2 separate regions of the Homo sapiens genome follow, and region 2 is linked to region 1. Evidence: promoter capture Hi-C in human tissues and cell types (Jung and others, 2019). All regions are on one chromosome and are shown on one strand. Each heading gives the region's core, a stretch centred on a gene start or on the middle of the fragment in contact. The rest is flanking DNA. Distances are from core to core; before and after follow the strand shown.

Region 1 (2,674 bases), core at 66-2,565:
GCCCGGCCCAGGGAGCTCTTAATACATATTAACTGTTACTGCTTCTTAGGATGTTAATAAGTTCTTTCCTTATGTAGGCCCTTAGGGCCCGTTTCTGAATGGCCTATGTGTAAATACAAGGACTTAACACAAGGCTATGGCCCATTCCTTGCTCTCCAGGAGTCAAATCTCGGCGATTTTGCATCAGTGGCAGCCTAAGCGTTACAGCAGGAAAGAACTCCACAAAGTGTCTCACGCTTCATTTAATCTGAAGAATATTACAGGCTCTCCGTCTTCAGATATAAATTATTTATAACGTTACAGAACAAGCAGCGAATTCAACCACTTAAGAACTAAGGAAGTCTACATGGTGTTAATTGCTGGCCACAGTCCTCCCGATCTGGTTTTTTAAAAAAGTCCCCCGGGCCCCCATTTCAGTAGACGTGCACCATGCCGTAGAGGAACGTCCAGAACAGGACGTAGGTGAAGAGGCCCCCGATGAGGCCTCCTGTAAAGAGAGGTCTCCGTGATTTGAAATATTTGTTCCACCTCCTTCCCGCCTTGAGAATGAGGAGCAGGGAGAGCAGGACGGAGGCGAGCAGGTAGAAGATGAAGCCGTAGAGGCCGGTGAGGCCGAGGATGCCGGCCGTGGCCCCCGACAGCGCTGACACCGAGGTCCGGCAATAATCCAGGACGGCGGCGTTGCCCCGCACGGCCGCCTCGCTGATGAACGGCGGCCCTTCCCGCTTGGCCACCACCGCGGCCATCGCACCAGCCCGGGCTCGGCCTCTCGCTTTCTCGCGGAACAACGCGGAGCTGCGGAGAAAACCAAGTTACAAGTGGCGCCCGGAGCTCGGTGAGTTGGGTTCACGCCGCCCCCTCCCCCTGGAGCTTCCGAGACCTGGCACCAGTCCTGGGCCTCGGATCTTCCAAAGACGCCGAGGAGATTGAGGGTCCGGGCCGGCCGGGAGGTGGTGGCGCGTCTGCGTTCCCCGGCCACGGTGGCCCAGTTACCTGGAACACGGCGCCGGACACACTACTTAGCGTTCCCTCAGACGGGCAGTGGAAGAAATGCCCGCGGCGCCATCTTGCTCGGAAGACTGCCGGGAGGTCTCGGGCTGCGCACGCGCCCAGATCCCGCCCCGCCCTCCGCGCCTGCGCCGTGGGCGCCCCGGACACGCTCCGCCCTCTGCCCGCTTTTCTGCGCACGCGCAGGGACTTCCGAAAGCGGAGTGGCGCTCCGGCCAGTGATTGGCTGGAGGTTTGTTAACTATTCATGAGGGGGCGGGCCGAGCGGGGCGGCCTTTGTTAAGCAGCGAGGGCGCGACCGCGGGTACTCTGCTGCCGGCTTCTCGGAGCGGCGCTGGGCGACCAGAGCAGGGTCGAGATGTCCTACATCCCGGGCCAGCCGGTCACCGCCGTGGTGGTGAGTGCGCTTGCGCGGGCTCCTCCTCGTCTTGGCCTGACCCCACCTCGCAGAGCGGGAAACGGACACCCCAAGCAGGTTGACAGAGCATCGAACCCGGGGCTCCTGCGAACCGGCGGCAAGGGCTCGGGTCCCCGCTTTGCCGGAGCGGGCCGCAGTTCCCCCAGCCACGAAACAGGGATGGCCGGGACCCGAGAGCCTCCCGAGACCCTGGACAGAGCCCAGACTGCGTGCGCAGGGCGGGGAGGGCCACGGGGAAAGGCCTGGCTGCAGGAGCCTGGAAAAGCGCCCCCTTCCCGGGCCTCCGTGTCCCCAGACGGGGAGCTGCTGGGGGCGGGCGCCGATCCCGACGTCCATGAGTCGCAGCCTCTGGAATGAGGAAATGCTTCCTCCGCTGCAGCCTGCGCCGCCGCCCGGAGGGAGATCTGGGGGTGGGGCTCTCCCGAGCCTGCCGTGGCAGCCCCTGCCCCCTTCCTGTCCAGCCTTGCTCCTCCAACCCACTCGCCGCCTGGTCCAGGGTGGACGCTCGTATAGCTGCGATGAGCGTTTCCTCTTCGAACTTTTCCTGGGTCTCCAGCCCTTAAGGCAAAAAAGTCCAGGCCTCCCTCCTGGCACTTGAGTCCTGAGTAGACCCTCCGGGGGCTAGCCTAGGCCCCTGGCCGCCCTCTGGCTTGTTTTAGGTGCTGGGTGCTATTAGACTAGGCAGAGGGAGGAAGGAAGGCTGGGACGTTAGACTCAGACGCCGGTGTCACAGAGGGACACAACCCTATGACAGAGGTGGGGAGTCCCAGAGAGAAGTGCTCAGCCAGAAAAGACCACCTCAGGAAAGACTCAGGTCTCCTGCCTACCTCCCGACAGCGTTCAGAGAATGAGAAGAAATGCCTGCCCGGTGGGCAGTAGGTCAAGCGAAAGTCCCCGCCCTGGAGCCATAGGGACTGGGTGTGTTATCTCAGTTGGGTGTGCTGGAGAAGCTCCAGCAATCAGGTGGGTGGAGGCAGAGAAGCCACTGATAAAGGCGACAAGTGAGGCTGAGCTTAGAGCACTGGCTCAGGCCTGGGCCAGGAGGAAACATTGCTGGACCAGCTGACAGCTGTCCTAAGCTTCACCCTCCCTGCACCAGCTTGACTTTTTTTTTTTTTTTTTTTTTGAGACAGTCTTGCTCTGTCGCCCAGGCTGGAGTACAGTGGCGCGATCTCGGTTCATTGCAACCTCCGCCTCCTGGGTTCAAGCGATTCTCCTGCCTCAGCCTCCCGAGTAGCTGGGATTACA
Region 2 (2,674 bases), core at 75-2,574, 1.3 Mb after region 1:
CAGTGACCGGCCACTGCTCTCGGCCTTGCCTCCAGAGAGAGCCTCATTCCTGGCATAGGCTGCTGATCTCTTGGGCTTTCAAGACTTGATGCTACAGCCTTGCATTTGGGTGTGAACTGGGGCTGCTGGGATATAGACCTTAGTCCTTTGTGTGGGGCACTGATCACATTGCAGCCCGTCGGTCCTGGGAGGTTTCTTCCCTATCACCATGTCCCCACCCCTGCGTGATCCAGCGGACTCTTGACTCCCATGGCAAGACTCCACCCGGCTTTACTCATAACTTCTGCCCAGTCCCACTCCCTTGACCTGAATTAGTTTTGCTGTCATAAAGCCACCTCTTTTTTCCTTTAAAGGAATCCCTGACATCGTCATCCGTCTCCTGTGCCTTTCCGCTGGGTCAGCCTCCTCCCACCAAGCTTCTGACCCACTGTCATCCGCAGCTGCCACTCTAGCTGCAGAGCTCGACTGGGCTCTGGTTTCTCAGAAGAGCTCAGAGGACCTGGCTCCTCCCTCTTTGCTTCTGAACTGCATTTCTTTCCTTATTACTCAGTGTCCACACCCACGGTGGCTGCCTGGATAAAAATCTGCCCCTTTCTCCCGTCACCTTTCATGCCAGACAAAAGCCCCAGTGAGTAATGGTGACCTACCCAGGTCCAGCTAGCAGCTCTCCATTCCTGAGTGGCCTGGGGCAGAACAGGGTCCTGCGAGCTCCTGGATCCCAAGTCTGATTCCCTTTCCCTGTCTTCCCGCTTATCTGCTAAGCTTGTTTATTGGGGACCACTAAGCAAAGTGAATGATTATTCCTGTCTTTAACGAGGAGGGGTGGAGTTCCCTCTCCATCTTCACCCACTTCTGGGAGGCTTTCAGGGACTCAACACCCCACACTGATAGCACTTCCCCAGGCCTGGCCCAGCCAGCCAAAGAGGAGGACCAGGCCACTTCTCAACCTAGCTGATGCTTGGCAGCTTTGTGACCTTGGATACACCTTCTCTTGGGAGGTCAGACCCCATGATCCCAGCTCTTCCAGCTATGACATCATGTGAGGCTGCAATTTTTTTTTTTTTTTTTTTGAGACAGTATCTTGCTATGTTGCCCAGGCTGGCCTTGAAATCCTGGGCTCAGGCGATTCTCCTGTCTCAGCCTCCCACGTAGCTGGAACTTAGGGCGTGAGCCACCGCGCCCAGCTTCTGGAAAGGACATGAATGGGGAGGTGGAACTTGATTGGACCTGTTCTGTGAGTTCAGGAGAGGTCCTCTGACAACTCACTTGGGGTGGGGAAAGGAGGTAAAGAGTCCTGTGGAAACTTTTGGCTGTGGGGACCCCATTTCACTGATGATTGAATGGGTCCACCTCTGTCAAAGGAATTCAGAGTCCCACTCATCATTCAGACTGGGGGAATCAGGCTCAGTTGACTGGCCCAGCCTTAAATCCACTGAATTTGTTTTTATCTCTACATAGAAAAACGGAATTACAGTTGCTTCTCACTGTCCAATGGGGATTGGTTCCTGGAGCCTCCCTGAATACCTGTCCATGGATGATGCTCAAATCCCTTACATGTAACCTATGCACATCCTCAGGTATCCTTTAACTCATCTCTGCGCTACTCAAATACCTCATACCATGTAAATGCTGTGTAAATAGTTCTTGTGCTGTGTTGGTTTTTAAATTTGTATTATTTTTTCTTGTATATTTTCCATTTTTTTTTCCTGAATATTTTTGATCCACGGTTAGTTGCCTCCATGGGTGCGGACCCACGGACACGGAGGCTGCACCTTCTGAAATGAGCATGGCGGCGCCCTCTGGGTCCTCGTGTCGTCCTGTCTCTGGTGCTGCATCCAGCACGGTGGCGAACAGCAGAACTAATCTTTTGCAAGTTATCACAGTGGAGTGGAGTTCCGCTCTGTTTGCTTTTGCCCCGCTCTGGCTTACCAGAGGTCCCCTGGCCTTGGCCACAGCATACCTAGCCTAGTGCTTGGCACCTCAGGCACACAATAAATATTTATGAAATGGATCTTCTCTGGTATGTCTTGAGTGTACTAGTCTTCTGTTTTTTCCTCTTCATCCTGCAGCCAGCTTCCTCCCATGGGTCTTGTTTTAATGATGGTATGTGAAAAGCTCCTTAGCTGCTTGCAAAAGATGAGACATCAGGCTTGAAGGGTTGGGATTTCCTGTGAACATCTGTACTTTCGGCTTCACGCCCTTTCCCCCATCTCATGACTCAGGCTTTGTAGGAGTCAGGGCACTGATTTTCATAGCTCTTGGAGTTGATACTTTGTTAGGTGAGTGGTGGGGGATAGGAAGACAGTTCCACTAAGGGGATGTCTCTGGCTCAGCATATTAAAAAATTGGGGAATTGGTGCTTCTTATTGTGGTTGGTGAAAAAAAGAATAAAAGATTAAAAAATTGGAGGACATAATGGAATTTGAACTGGGAGGTGGGGTGCACAAGACTCGGGGAGGAAGACTGAAAACGGAAACCCTCTCGTGAGAAACTCACAATGATGGACAGCCCAGCTTTTCTCCTGCTCCAAGGTACTAAGCACCCAGAAGCCATGAAGAAACTTAAGGAACAGCCGGGCGCGGTGGCTCACGCCTGTCATCCCAGCCCTTTGGGAGGCCAAGACAGGCAGATCACTTGAGGTCAGGAGTTTGAGACCAGCCTGGCCAACATGGTG

What was found. Contacts are between HindIII fragments. The study calls those that stand out against the background at their distance.
Region 2: a fragment that was not itself captured here is called in contact with the fragment with the promoter of TAX1BP3 in region 1 in 1 of the 25 tissues and cell types used here (dorsolateral prefrontal cortex).

The regions. Positions count from the first base shown.
Region 1 is chr17:3,667,219-3,669,892 of GRCh38, reverse strand. It overlaps TAX1BP3 (Tax1 binding protein 3), which reads left to right and starts at 1,315. Exons shown (of 4, transcript NM_014604.4): 1 at 1,315-1,405. The coding sequence starts at 1,367. EMC6 (ER membrane protein complex subunit 6) reads right to left here and starts at 1,081. Exons shown (of 2, transcript NM_031298.4): 1 at 994-1,081; 2 at 228-795. The coding sequence starts at 746. The coding sequence ends at 414. It overlaps P2RX5-TAX1BP3 (P2RX5-TAX1BP3 readthrough (NMD candidate)), which reads left to right. Exons shown (of 15, transcript NR_037928.1): 12 at 1-835. RefSeq lists enhancers at 1-395, 396-926, 1,459-1,989, 1,990-2,521 and a silencer at 1,028-1,367. The HindIII fragment of the contact is 19,427 bases long and covers 1-2,674 here.
Region 2 is chr17:2,404,910-2,407,583 of GRCh38, reverse strand. LOC284009 (a long non-coding RNA gene) reads left to right here. Exons shown (of 3, transcript NR_028335.1): 3 at 354-603. Among named protein-coding and RNA genes, the nearest start is that of MNT, 5.2 kb to the right of the region's middle. The HindIII fragment of the contact is 5,447 bases long and covers 1-2,674 here.